Linked DNA regions of Homo sapiens: all the other regions are linked to region 1. Evidence: promoter capture Hi-C in 16 types of primary human blood cells and fetal thymus (Javierre and others, 2016). All regions are on one chromosome and are shown on one strand. Each heading gives the region's core, a stretch centred on a gene start or on the middle of the fragment in contact. The rest is flanking DNA. Distances are from core to core; before and after follow the strand shown. Region 1 holds the start of PCGF5 (polycomb group ring finger 5). Region 2 overlaps RPP30 (ribonuclease P/MRP subunit p30). Region 3 has its middle 15 kb from the start of ANKRD1. Region 4 has its middle 5.4 kb from the start of ANKRD1. Region 5 has its middle 3.3 kb from the start of XLOC_008559.

Evidence for each region. The method cuts DNA at HindIII sites, captures the fragments that hold promoters and counts their contacts. A CHiCAGO score of 5 or more calls a contact.
Region 2: a fragment that was not itself captured here is called in contact with the fragment with the promoter of PCGF5 in region 1 in 6 of 17 cell types (fetal thymus, M1 macrophages, M2 macrophages and 3 more); the score reaches 12.0 in fetal thymus.
Region 3: a fragment that was not itself captured here is called in contact with the fragment with the promoter of PCGF5 in region 1 in 1 of 17 cell types (fetal thymus); the score reaches 5.9 in fetal thymus.
Region 4: a fragment that was not itself captured here is called in contact with the fragment with the promoter of PCGF5 in region 1 in 1 of 17 cell types (fetal thymus); the score reaches 5.9 in fetal thymus.
Region 5: a contact is called between a fragment that was not itself captured here and the fragment with the promoter of PCGF5 in region 1, in 1 of 17 cell types (fetal thymus). The highest score is 5.1, in fetal thymus.

What each region holds. Positions count from the first base shown.
Region 1 is chr10:91,219,346-91,222,032 of GRCh38, reverse strand. It overlaps PCGF5 (polycomb group ring finger 5), which reads right to left and starts at 1,370. Exons shown (of 10, transcript NM_032373.5): 1 at 1,197-1,370. RefSeq lists silencers at 747-1,041, 731-1,190, 1,261-1,570 and an enhancer at 1,761-1,830. The HindIII fragment of the contact is 12,523 bases long and covers 1-2,687 here.
Region 2 is chr10:90,884,134-90,886,820 of GRCh38, reverse strand. RPP30 (ribonuclease P/MRP subunit p30) reads right to left here. Exons shown (of 11, transcript NM_006413.5): 6 at 920-1,009. Among named protein-coding and RNA genes, the nearest start is that of RPP30, 14 kb to the right of the region's middle. The HindIII fragment of the contact is 1,166 bases long and covers 751-1,916 here.
Region 3 is chr10:90,904,707-90,907,393 of GRCh38, reverse strand. It overlaps a transcript of RPP30 not described here. Among named protein-coding and RNA genes, the nearest start is that of ANKRD1, 15 kb to the left of the region's middle. The HindIII fragment of the contact is 5,535 bases long and covers 1-2,687 here.
Region 4 is chr10:90,925,153-90,927,839 of GRCh38, reverse strand. No RefSeq gene overlaps it. Among named protein-coding and RNA genes, the nearest start is that of ANKRD1, 5.4 kb to the right of the region's middle. RefSeq lists an enhancer at 1,664-2,550. The HindIII fragment of the contact is 1,120 bases long and covers 770-1,889 here.
Region 5 is chr10:90,942,666-90,945,352 of GRCh38, reverse strand. No RefSeq gene overlaps it. Among named protein-coding and RNA genes, the nearest start is that of XLOC_008559, 3.3 kb to the left of the region's middle. The HindIII fragment of the contact is 4,169 bases long and covers 1-2,687 here.

The DNA.
Region 1 (2,687 bases), core at 121-2,620:
GGGATCACTCCTCTCCCACCGTCTCCTCTGCAGGTTCTAAGCACTCTATCCAACACGCCCTTTCTCTCCTCTGTCTGCATGCCACCTATCCTTCAAGCCCTTCTCCAATGCTATTCTCAGTGCAATCTTTCCCTAGTTTTTAATGCTTACTTCTTTCCTATTACATTTGCCTTTTATTTTGATTTATAGTTACGTTCATTCTTTACCTTCTTTGTTAGACCAAAAACTCTTCAATAGAAACTGGTCATATTTAGTAGATATATAACCTGGATAATGCTACTTTCCTGTCTCAGGTTTTTTTTTTTTTTTAACTGTAAAATATGTATCCTCTCAGAAAACACAACATGAAAGGTGTTGATTTTCCTAAGTGCATTCTATAAACAGGAACTTTCCCCCATCTTAGCTGTTAACTCATTGGTAAATATAAAGCAACCGGAAAGGTAAAAGGCATTCCATCAACACATACCCACTGCGAATGTGCAGGGAATAGGCTCTACGTGTAATCATCCTATCCTCTTGGGAAACCGTATTCGTGCGTGTAACAGAAAGCAAGCATAATTAAAAGACAGGGAATCAGGGTTCTGGCCCTTACCCCTGTATGACCTTCAGCAAACCGTTTCATATCTGAGCCTGGGTCTCGGCTTCCTCCTCTATAAGTTGGGATTAACTGCCTTGCCTTTCCCACAGGTTTGCCATGAAACTCCAAAGTAAGAGAAAGTCCTCTGGAAGAGGAAATGCACGGTCCCGACCTGGGGTGGTACTAAGATCCTAAGGCACAGAGCCCTGTGACCAAGACAGTTAAGGGAAGCAAGAACTTGCAATGACGGGGCGGGGGCAAGGGGGAACTTTTCTGCGTTCTCCGGCAGGACCCAGCGGTACAGCCCTGTGGGGTCCCAGCACAGCCGCGCCCGCCCGGCAGGTGCGCGGGCCCAGGCCCCGCGGGCGCGCTGCTCAGGCCGGGGAGAGCGAGCAGCCTTTCCCGGGGCCGGCGTCCGCAGCCGGCCGCTCTCCCCGCCGAGGTAGGCACAGCTCCGAAGCCCCCGCCCGGGTCGGTAGCCCCCTGCACCCGAAGGGCCCTCCCGGCTCCAGGCTGGGCCGGCCAGGGCAGGTGTCTGGAGGTGTCGCTCTCGCCTGAGGCGCAAACTTGGGTGAGGAGTCTGGCGTCCCTGCAGCTCCCCAGCCCGCCCGGTACCTACCCAGCGGCCGCCACCGCCGCCGCTCCTCGCCCGCCAGCGCGCCGGCCTCAGAGTGAAGGAAAGTGAAACAGAAACAGCACCCGCCGCGGCCTGGCCGGTCCCCGCGCCCCGTCTGCTCTCCCCCTGCAGGCGGGAGCGCGCCGGCTCTGTGGGGCCACTCGGCTCAGGCCCGACAGGGCGCGGCGGGCCTCGGGGCCCAGGTCCGGTGCCGCCTCCAAGGGCAACTCCACCCACTTCCAACCGGCGGCACCGCCCGCCCCGCCGCCCGGCCACGCCCCCGCCGCCCGGCCACGCCCACCACCACGCCCGGAGGCCGCGCCTGCCGCCTGCGCTGCTCGCAGGTGCAGCTGCCGCCCTGGCTCCCTGTGCTACACGTAGCTCTGGCCAAATATTATCTCGGTTCTTCTTATCCTCACCGTCCACCCCTTCGGTTGTTTACATCATAACAATGACTGGCATATTTTCCCTGGAGGGTTTAAAAGCAACGGTCAGTGATGAGACTGACGCACCCTGAGAATTTGTCTCTTCAGCTGCGTCTTCCCCAAGTCTGTCCCACCTGCGCCGAAGTGGGGACAAAGCCATCCCTTGATTTGCACCTTATCTGAAAATGACTGACAAACTTGTTACTGTAGTGTGGGTCCAGAGATCATGGTCGTTGACAACTATAAGCAAACGGGAACGTTGTGGAGGTTGAGGGTGGGGGGAGGGTGAGTGGTAAAGAAGCATTACTGTTTGCAACGTTCAAAACAAACAAAAACCCAGTACTCTTTCTAGTGGACTTTGAGATCTACAAGAGACCATTCACTGCAAAAACCTTCATTCAAAAATGTGTATTCTAGAAGCCAGAGCAGTGATGGCTTAAGAAAATGACAATAATAGAGGGTAGGGGAGACTGTCAATGCAAAATATTTGCTTTTTCTCCAACTGATAGGCGTTAACTTCTTACTAAAGTGATAGATGACTCTAAGTGGCAAACCAACAAACTTAACAACCGCTAGTCCAGCAGCCATACAAGTGTTCAAAGATCCATTTCAAATTTAAAATGCATCAAGCAGTAGACCAAGGCAGCTTTTTAAACTATCCATTTTATAATCAAACTTTGACATGTTTAAAAATTGCCATTTCTAATATCACAGCAGGAGCAATACATTTTCTGAAACAGCTTTAAATGACCACATTCGTATAGTCCTTTAAAGAACCATTTTCCAAAATCATACATGCCAATGTCCAAGCTGGGATCAACTTCATAAGTCGCAGCAATCACAATGAGTAAGAGAAAACAAGTGAGGTCAAATGACTTCATGGCAGTAGGATTACTCTTTATGCTTCATATCTTTCATTTCAGAGACTAAACAGAACAGTATGTGAAAAATCACACTACTTCTAGTGTGTTTAAAATATGCATTGGAGGATATTACTGTATATATACCACAATATATAAAAAAGACTTGGTATGTTCCTATTTTGTGTCTGAAACTATTTTAAATATGT
Region 2 (2,687 bases), core at 84-2,583, 340 kb after region 1:
AGGGAATTATCCTTTGAAAAACTTAAAAAAAATTAATCTTCTGATTCTGACAGGATTGGATATGTAATTTTGACTGTATTTGCTAAACTCTTTTTTTTCTCCTTGGATACCAGTTTTTGAGAACAGGAGACTAGGGTTTTGGAAGCCACTACTCTAAAATAGCATCTGAACTCCTCCTAGGATCTGACTGGCAAAGCAAATAGTTAACAGCTGTGCTGACCTTTTGCTACTAAAATAGTTACTGGTGTGAAATAATATTACCTTATGATGGAAATGGGAGGAAATTAAGACAGAAGAAGGAATGGACAGATAGAAGATGAAGGGTATGGGAAAACAAGAGAAAACTATGTAGAAGGGGAATGAGAAAAATTCTATAGCAGAGGGAGAAACAAAAAAGTTTTCTGAACACATGGCCATCCTATTAGGTTCATATAAAAGTAACTCTGGGCTCTTTGTGAATAAGCATGCTTCAACACAGATTTTAATTTTGCATAGACCACGTCTATGTGATGCCATGCCCTGTTCCCTCTTGACTCTCTTTAGCTTCCTGGTGCCTCAAGGATCCTCTGCTTTTTATTTTTTCCCTTCCTCTTCTTTTTTGACTGCTCTGTTCCCTTAATAATTGATGTTCAGGTTATAAGTACCCATGATTATTAGCTATCCTCTTAAGAAATATCCTTTATAAATTTTGGGTTCTATGGCCTTTTAAAAACATCTTAATAATTAACTGGATATTTTTAATTTTAAGCTTTCTTTCTCCCTTTGTTCAGCTTTCAAAACGAAAATTCTCTTTTCTAAAACTGCCTCCTATTCCCTAGCCTTTGTTTTTCCTTCTAAGAACACTGATTTCTTCTGCTTCTTTTCCAATTTGCTAATGTAAGTTTCTAAGATTCAAATACAGAATGGAAAGTACACTTACCACATTAATAGGAGGTCTTTTGAAGTAAAATGGTAGTTTCTCTGTTACAGTTATGCAGACTAAATCCACATCTAAATGTGTGCAAGCAATCTGTAAAGAAGAAAAAAATAGGTAAGGCCAAAAGGAAAATTGGCACAAGTAAGAATGGGAGATAGGGTCAAACTCGATATAAAGTATGGTTCACTCCATAGGTGTTTTGATGGTTCTGTGTTGAAATACATCTGACCTTTTACAAAGTCAACTGTTTTGCTACTCTTTTAGGTTTGGTTTAAATGGTTTAACTGTAATCCAGCAAAAGCGGAATATGTCCACAGACTTTCTCAAAAGATAGGGCCTGGAGACTCTCTAACTCATATGGTCTTCTACATAAGGATGGGTTGCAGAGCGAGGCTCAGTTTCTGGAAGGTTACTTCAGACTGTCCCAGAAAGAAGAAACTGACTATTCTAAAACCCAAGGAAAAAATAAGCCAAATGGAATGTATGCATAGTCCATTTATCCCACACACTATTTATTGAGCAACTCTGTGCCAAGAATTGTCCCAGGGCTGTGGCTCCTATCAAGTCTACTGAGTAGCTAAAGAAATATGAACACAGCACCTCATGACATTTGTTCAAATACTAATAGAAGGAATCTACATAAATAGTTAAAGCAGAGCTACTACAAAGCAAATGATAATGAATGCATTTTCTCAACTTTTAATTTCCCTTTCTGTTGTTTTAATTTTTGCTATGACTTGTTGAGTAATACTCTGCATTTTCTTCTCAAAGAGATTTGAAACTGTTTATGAAAACCACATACAAGATAAAATAAACAGATAAGAAAATCAGGATAAATGGAAAATCAGGGAAGAAAAATAAAGCTGGGAAAAGGTTACTAGTGTAGAGGGCAAGCCAGAAGACACTGCTGGAAGAAACATACCTGGCTCTGATTTTGCCATTATTTGATTTATAGTGATAAAAATATTTGGCTGTTATGTATTACATTAAAAACAAAGCTTACTGACAATGCTAGTGTGTACAGGCTTGACAGACAAATTCAAACTTCCAGGATGGCTACGCTGACAAACAACATCAGTGGCATGTACCAGGGGAAAGGGCAGAGTAAGGAAGAGTGGAGAAAATGACCTATAGGATTGGTGCCAACCTTCGGCAATGACAGGAATACCGTATCTTGCCCTTTTTCTTCAGAATCCCCACTTCAGTCACTCCTACTCCAACCCCAGGGCTTTAGGAAGTAGAGATCAGAGGCTGGCTAGCTTTAAGACAGTCATAGTAACTTAGTAAGCCTGGGAAGCAATGTTGTTTTGGCAGAAATACTTGGCTCATAAAGAATCTGCCCCATCCCAACTGCCACAGCTGTCCAACTCATAAAAGAGTCACTGAAAATTTAATAAGAGTGGATGAAGAAAAGCTCTGAATGATAGCTGAAACAAATTCAGCTCTGTTCACCATTTTTTATCGATCATACTGGCAAAGATAAAAAAGTTTGGTACTACCTTGCTGACATGAGAATGAATGAACAGGCACTCAAAAGGTCTTTAAATCAGTATAAGGTCTTGAAAAGCATTTTAGCAATGGCTACCAAAATTTTAAATGCACACACCAACAATTCTACTTATAGGTATGTAGTAGGTATAAGTGGAGTCTCCTATAGAGAAGTCTCTATAAGTGCAGAGACTCTAAAAATATATTACGTAGCTATATACCCTACAAAGGCTCAGGGGACATTAGTACAATGACAGTCATTGCAATACCAATCATGAAAGAC
Region 3 (2,687 bases), core at 69-2,568, 310 kb after region 1:
CAGGCATTGGGGATTTCATTGTTATCTCTCTGACTCCCAATCTTGTTTGTTGGCCCCTCTACCTTCCCCACAGGGGTCCTGGCTTAAGTTTGTCAGACTTTTAAGGCTCAGGGTCCTTCAATTTCTTCCAAGTGAAACATCTACAACACAGACATTTCTCTTGCCAGTGCTGATGTCTCATGTGGCATAACTTCAACGTGTTACCACCATGTGACCAACTTTTCTTTATGGTATCTGCCTCAAATCCACCTCCCCTAAAGAGCTGGGAGGGTACACGAGAGAAGAGAATAAAGAGTTAAAAAGTTTTATGTTGCCACATATAAATATTTGCACTAATAACTAGGTAGAGGGCATGAGAGACAATATGGAATAAATCCCATTAGAATTAAGACAACTCTTAGTTATTTCTGCTAATGGAAAAGATAAACACGTTGGGGGAAATTTTTAAGTTTTTAATCACATAGTCAATTTTTTTATAAGGTTCTCTCCTTGCCTTCTCACTGACTCAACTCTTTGCCCACAATCTTTCATTTTGTGTTTGCTCTTCAGTGAAGGGCACACCACACTGGCCAATGGAGAGTCCTAGAAGTTGTTTTTGACCTTCTTTCCCTCATCCTTCTCTTTTAAACAACCAGGTCTTACCAAGTATACTACATAAGTAGTGCTGTGATCTGTCCATGTTTTCCAATCCTAGGTGCCTCTGCCCTAGTTCAGGTCACCATTACTTCTCATCTGGATCAAATAGCCCTCCTAGGCTCCTGGCCTCCAGGCTTGCTTACCTCCAGAATGTTTTTCAAGTTGCAGATAGAGGGATTTTTCTAAAATGCAATGCTGATCAACTCACTCTCCTCTTTCAACCCTTCGATGGCTTCACATTTCTCTCAGGATGAAATAAAAACTCCTAAAAATGTCTTATAAAATCCTTAAAATCTGGCTGCTGTTAACTCTTTATTCTTATCTCTCATAACCTTCCTAGCCAAACTCTAAATTTCAACTCAACTAAATTTTCAGTTCCTTAAAAAATCCAGGCACTTGCTTTACTGTTTTCACATACTGTGCCAGCTCCCTGGAAGACTCTTCTTCCCACTACAGCCCACTCCACGCCATCACATCACTTCTCATTCCTCCCCTTTGTTCTAGCTGTATTTCCTCCAGGAAGCCATCCTTGAGTCCTTAGATTCTATTAGTTCCCCCAAGGTGTCTTCCTGTTGTACTTTGCTTTTTCCCCATAACATCTGTCATACTTCCTTCCCCCTCCTCTTGAACACCCAATACTCATTATGCCAATACAGAAATGAGTAACAAAGGAAGCAACACATCACCAATAATCCTGGTTTCATGACATTCTGATTATTTCTGTGCACATTATGGGTATTGTGTATTTAGCTTTACAACTTCAACTGAACAACTTATTCTAGACATCTTTATAGACAGTATTCTTTTAATGTACAATGAATTATTTAATCCTGTTATTATTGGGTATTTAGGTTGTTTCCATTTTCACATTTAAGACATTGTTGCAGTGAATATCCTTATCCATCCACCCTTTATAATTAACCAGTTATTTCTGAAGAATAAATTGACATCAAAAGTATAAGACTTGCATCAAATTGTATCTCCCTCCACACCATCTTGAAAATACCCACTTTATAAATCTTTTTTTCTTTTAACTTTCAACCTGATCAGCCAGATATATTTGTGGTGATTTCCCCCTAAATGACTAGGAAAGTTCAGCATCTTCATGTTACTGGACATTTAAAAAAATCAACTTTATTTGTCCAATTTTCTAAGTCAGGTCTCCTGGAAGCAGCATTTCAAATTAGGATTCTTGTGTAAGTGACTTACTGAGAGTCCTCTATAAGGGAATGAGAAAAAACAGAACAGGGCAGAAGAGGCAAATATGTGGTTTCAGGAGAAATCCACACACAGCGTAATCCCATGGGGTGCTCAGGAGCATAAATTGTACCACCGAGGCCAGTGGGCCAGGCTGTAATGTCCTGCATCAGTCACTGGCCATGGGCCAACCTCAGAGGAGACAAAACTTCCCAGGTATCTTCAGGTAAAGTGACTCTCATCAGCCCAGGACAATCCTCTGGAAAAGGGTGAAGATAAGTCATTAGTACCCAACATCTGAAGCACTGGCAATATAGGTACACCACCCTGGGAATGGGGATCTCTATGGATGCTAACAGCATGTCATGTTGGGTATTTAAAAAAAAAAAATTCTTAAAAGCTAAGCATATGAAACCTTCCTGGAATATGTATTGTAAATGTACTTTCCTACTTGTTGTTATGTAGAGACAAATCAATCAAACTTTGTTTTCTGGCTTTGATGACCATGCTCGGCAGGTCTATTGCAATCCAAGATTATTATTTTTTTAATTAACTTACATTTTCCTCTAGTATTTTACAAGTTTGTTAAAAAATTTAAATCTTTAATCTACCTGGATTTACTATGGGTGTGTATTGGGTGTGAGATAGAGATTTGACTTAGTTTTTTCCTAAATGATAGCTGACACTTCAATATTTAAATTAATATAATGAAGTAATAAATAATAAAATAGTTGGTACTTTCTTTTTTTTAGACAGAGTCTCATTCTGTCGCCCAGACTGGAATGCAGTGGTGCGATCTCAGCTCAGTGCAACCTCTACCTCCCGGGTTCAAGCAATTTTCCTGCCTCAGCCTC
Region 4 (2,687 bases), core at 80-2,579, 290 kb after region 1:
TGGCTAAAAAGGTTAATGGATTTTCTATCTATGTTTGCAGTCACAGAAGCACTTATCTCTCATTCCAAGTAGATGTTCTATGTAATTGGGTGTGAAGTAATTCCAAAGTTGCATCAAAATCTTTTCAGAGCGTTACTATGACAATCAAACTTCCTTTTAAAAAATCATCTCAACGCAAACTCTCCATCATCCCACCGTCCATTGAGTGAAATTTAATCTCATGAAGTAAATTTGGCTTTTGAGAAAGTTGAGGGGTGGGAGGGGAACCATTATGCATTCACATTTTAACTGATTCTCCCACTCACACCCATTCTTCTTGAGGTTGTAATAGACAGGCCAGTTGTCCTTATCACAATCCCAGAATGTTGATTGTTAGAGGCTCTGCCTTCCTAATGTTCTGGGAACCAGTGTAGGGGGCCTAAACAAGAACCCATTATTTGGGGAAATAAGAATGTAATAGAAAGTCACTGAGATCCCTTCCTGGACACTTATCACTACCTTTTCTATGGGGACAGATGTCAGCCTAGGCAAGAGCTTGGGCAGGGATTCTCAGAAGGGGAAGAAAGAGGATGAGGCCTTATAAAAATCTCTGCGGTCTTAGAAGGTTTGAAGAGGCATAATCAAAATTACCACTACTTTTATTTCATCTTGACCCCAAGTTGATCTTCTTGAAATTTCTATCCATGTAACAGAGAGTGTGAAATTTTTATGTTTATCAAGTGGGAGAATGTCTTAAAGATAGTGGAAATATCCTGGGCTAGTGAAAGCTTTATGGACCGTTTCCTCTTTTAGAGGCATTGGAGAATCAACTTCACTGTCCGCACGTGATGCTGCAGTTATGAATGTTTATTTCTACCTTTTGATTCAGTGACTTTGAGACCTCAGTAAAACTTTAGGGCCCTAGAAATCATTTTGTTCTCAGCTCTCCTTTTATAACTTCAGGATTTGAGATGGTAAGAGGTGAGAGGACTTGCTCCAGTGAACACAGGGCAAAGCCAGGATTTAGAGGTAAGCCTCCTGATTCTTCATCCCATCCCCACCAGACCCACAAAACTACTGTCTCGCCTCACTCTTCTTGATTTGTGGCAGAAGAAGCATGTTATATTGTCTGTAGTTTTTGTTAAATACTTCAGTAAAACTGTGTGAATGCCGTGAGGGCAGAGTCGTGTGTCTCTTGAGAGCATAAGTATATCTCAGCTCTAGAAAAATGCCTGACACAAAGTAGAGCTAAATAAATATTAAATGAGTAGGCCAGGCACAGTGGCTCATGCCTGTGATCCCAGCACTTTGGGAGGTCAAGGCGGGAGGATCACTTGAGGCCAGGAGTTCAAGACCAGCCTGGCCAACATGGCAAAACCACATCTCTACCAAAAATACAAAAATTAGCTGGGCATGGTGGCATGCACCTGTAGTCCCAGCTGCTCAGGAGGCTGAGGCAAGAGAATTGCTTGAACCCGTGAGACAGAGGTTGCAGTGAGCCAAGATCGTGCCACCGTACTCCAGCCTGGACAACAGAGCAAGCCTCTGTCTCAAAACAATAAAATAAAATAAAATAAAATAAAATAAAATAAAATAAAATAAAAAATAAATGAGTAAATTGTATGTGTGTGTTTCCCATGGTCTTAGCATAGGCAAGAGTCTTCAACAATCAAAATTCTGAGACCAGAATAACAATAGCTTGACTGTCCACTACAACTTGGAGAAAATACACGTGTATTTAGATACATATTCATTTAATTCTACACCCTCGAGCAGTATTCTCAATGCTGGGAGGAAATTAGAATCAACTGGAAAACTTTAAAAAATACCAATTCCTTGGATCTTTGAGCAGAGATTTGGATTTCATGTGCCTGAGCTGAAGCCTGGGCATCAGCATTTTTTTAGAAGCTTCACAGAGGATTCTAAGATGCACCCAGCTTAGAGAATCACTGCTTGAAGAAATGTTAGTTCACACCTGAGAAGCCCTGACTCTGCGATTACAACTGTTGGGGTTAGTTAGCATTTGAAAGACACTAATGAGCTGCCCCCACTCCAGTGGAGGTAATCCCAAGTACTTTACCTATCTTTACCTTTGATAGTATTGACAGATTAATGGTTAATTAGCATGAGAAATGTTACCAATTATTTCTCATTGAAAGGAGAATTTGAAATATGTGGTTTGGTTAGAAAAGAATATGAGCCCTGCTGGGTCTCAGGTAAATATTTATTTAGCCCCACTATGTGTCAGGCACTTTTCTATGCAGTTGGAGTCCTAGGCTTATAGTGAGTGCTAGGACTCCATCCTATCTTGTGTTAGGCCATATGTGGAGGAGTCTGTAATCACCTTGAGTGGACTAGAAAATTAGCTGAAATATGCTGCCAGAATGTGGTTGTGGTTTCATTTGCTTCAAGTGAAACTTTTTCTTTTATTTTTTTTTAAATAAAAAAACATAGAGCCAGGATCTCGCTATGTTGTCTAGGCTGGTCTCGAACTCCTAGGGTCAAGTGATCCTCCTGCCTTGGCCTCGCAAAGTGCTGAGGTTACAGGCATGAGCCACCATGCCTAGTCAAGCGAATCTTTTGTGCTGGACACTGTCCAAGGGCCTAAATGGACAAAGGGCTGGGCTTCATGAGTTTACTGAATAGTGCATGTGGCCCTTTGTGCCTGTTGGCTGGTGTGAGTTCATATGTGTGGCAGAATTTGCACT
Region 5 (2,687 bases), core at 83-2,582, 280 kb after region 1:
AGATTCTTAGTTTGCTAGGACTGCTGTAACAAAGTATAGCTGTCCCTCGGTATTCTGAGGGGATTTGTTCTAGGACCTTCCTCAGATACCAAAATTCGTGGATGCACAAGTCTGTTATAGAAATGGTTCAGTGTTTGCATATAATTTACATATATCCTCCTGTATACTTTAAATCATCTCTAGATTATTTATCATACCTAGTACAATGTAAATGCCATGTAAATAGTAGTTACACTATATCGTTTAGGGAATAATGACCAAAAAAAGTCTATACATGTTCAGTACAGACACAACCATCACTTTTTGTCTGAATATTTTTGATCTGTGGTTGGTTAAGCCCCCAGATATGGAGGGCTGACTATGCCACAGCCTGGGTACTTAAATAACAGAAATTTACTTTCTCACAGCTCTGGAAGCTAGATGTCTGAGATCAAGGTGTCAGTGGGGCTTGTTCCTTCTGAGGGCTGTAGGAGAAAGATCTGTTTCAGGTCTCTCTATTTGTTTTGTGGATGGCTTGTTTTCTTCTTGTGTCTTTACATCATCATTCCTCTGTATGAGTCTGTATCCAGATTTATTTTTCTTATAAGGACACAATTCATACTGGATTAGAGTTCACCGTAATGACCTCATTTTAACTTGATTAATTCTGTAAAGATCTTCTTTCCAAATGAAGTCTTCTTCTGAGGTTCTGAGGGTTAGAACTTCAAAAAATGAATTTTGTAGAGATCCATAACAGCTAGGAAACTACCAGGAACTAGGAGAAAGGCATAGAACGATTCTTCCTTACTGCCCTCAAAAAGAACCAATCCTGCTAATGTCTTGATCTTAGACTTCTAGCCTCCCGGCTGTAAGAAAACAAATTTCTATTGTGTAAATACCCTGTTTGTGGTACTTTGTTACGGTGACCTTAGAAAATTATATTGTAAACATAAGCAAAAACGCAATTTTTCAAGAGCTGAAACTCTAACTGGAAATCAACTAAAGGTTTTACCACATTGACAATTTGAAGTTTATCGCCCAGATGCCACTATTCAAATCTGTTAACACATAAAACTATTCCAAAAGTCAATTTGAGAGATTTTACACGTGTTAGTTACAAATATTAAGAATCTTCACATTTCATACTTTTCCAAAATAGAAATTCAGACCATAATATTCTTGATTTTAATTGACATTCTTACACAAACATGAAAACATAAGTGGAAGCTGACAGTCAAAGACCAAAATGTTTAGGGATTAAAAAGGGGCTGTTGAACTTAAATGTAATATCCAAAACTGTAAAAACCCTAGAAGAAAATCTAGGCAATACCATTCAGGACATAGGCATGGGCAAAGATTTCATGATGAAAATGTCAGAAGCAATTGCAACGCAAGCAAAAATTGACAAATGGGATCTAATTAAACTAAAGAACTTCTGCACAGCAAAATAAAGTATCATCAGAGTGAACAGACAACATACAGAATGGAAGAAAAATTTTGTAATCTATCCATCTAACAAAAGTCTAATATCCAGAGTCTACAAAGAGCTTAAGCAAATTTACCAGAAAAAACTCCATTAAAAAGTGGGCAAAGGACATGAACAGACACATATCAAAAGAAGACATGCATGCAGCCAAAAAATAGGAAAGAAAGCTCAACATCACTGATCATTAGAGAAATGCAAATCAAAACCACAATGAGATACCATCTCATGCCAATCAGAATGGCTATTATTAAAAGGTCAAGAAACAACAGATGCTGATGAGGCTGCAGAGGAAAAGGAACGCTTTTACACTGTTTGGTGGGAATGTAAATTAGTTCAACCATTGTGGAAGACAGTGTGGCGATTCCTTAAAGATCTATAAGCAGAAATACCATTTGACTCAGCCATCCCATTACTGGGTATATACTCAAAGGAATATAAACCATTCTATTATAAAGATACATGCACACATATGTTCATTGCAGTACTATTCATAAGAGCAAAGACACAGAATCAGCCCAAATGCCCATCAATAATAGACTGGATAAAGAAAATGTGGTACTCATAAATCATGGAATACTAAGCAGCCATAAAAAGGAATGAGATCATGTCCTTTGCACGGACATGGATAAAGCTGGAGGCCATTATTCTCAGCAAACTAACACAGGAAAAGAAAACCAAACACCACATGTTCTCACTTATAAGTGGGAGCTGAACGATGAGAACACATGCACACAAGGAGGGGAACACCACACACTGGGGCCTGTCAGAGGTGGTGGGAGAGAGAGCATCAGGAAGAATAGCTAATGGATGTTGGGCTTAATGTCTAAGTGATGGGGTGATCAGTGCAGCAAACCACCAAGGCACACATTTAGCTATGTAACAAACCGATTTATCCTGCACATGTAACCTGGAATTTAAAATAAAAGTTGAATTAAAAAAAAAGGGGGTGGGGGGAAGAGGAGGCTTTCGGTAACACCAATCTAACTTTATTTAATAGCTGAAAAAAAAAACGGTGTTTAAAAGATTTACGGCCAGTCGCGGTGGCTCACACCTGTAGTCCCAGCACTTTGGGAGGCCAAGGCAGGCAGATCACAAGGTCAAGAAATCGAGACCATCATGGCCAACACGGTGAAACCCCGTCTCTACTAAAAATGCAAAAATTAGCTGGGCAAGGTGGCGCATGCCTGTAGTCCCAGCTACTCAGGAGGCTGAAGCAGGAGAA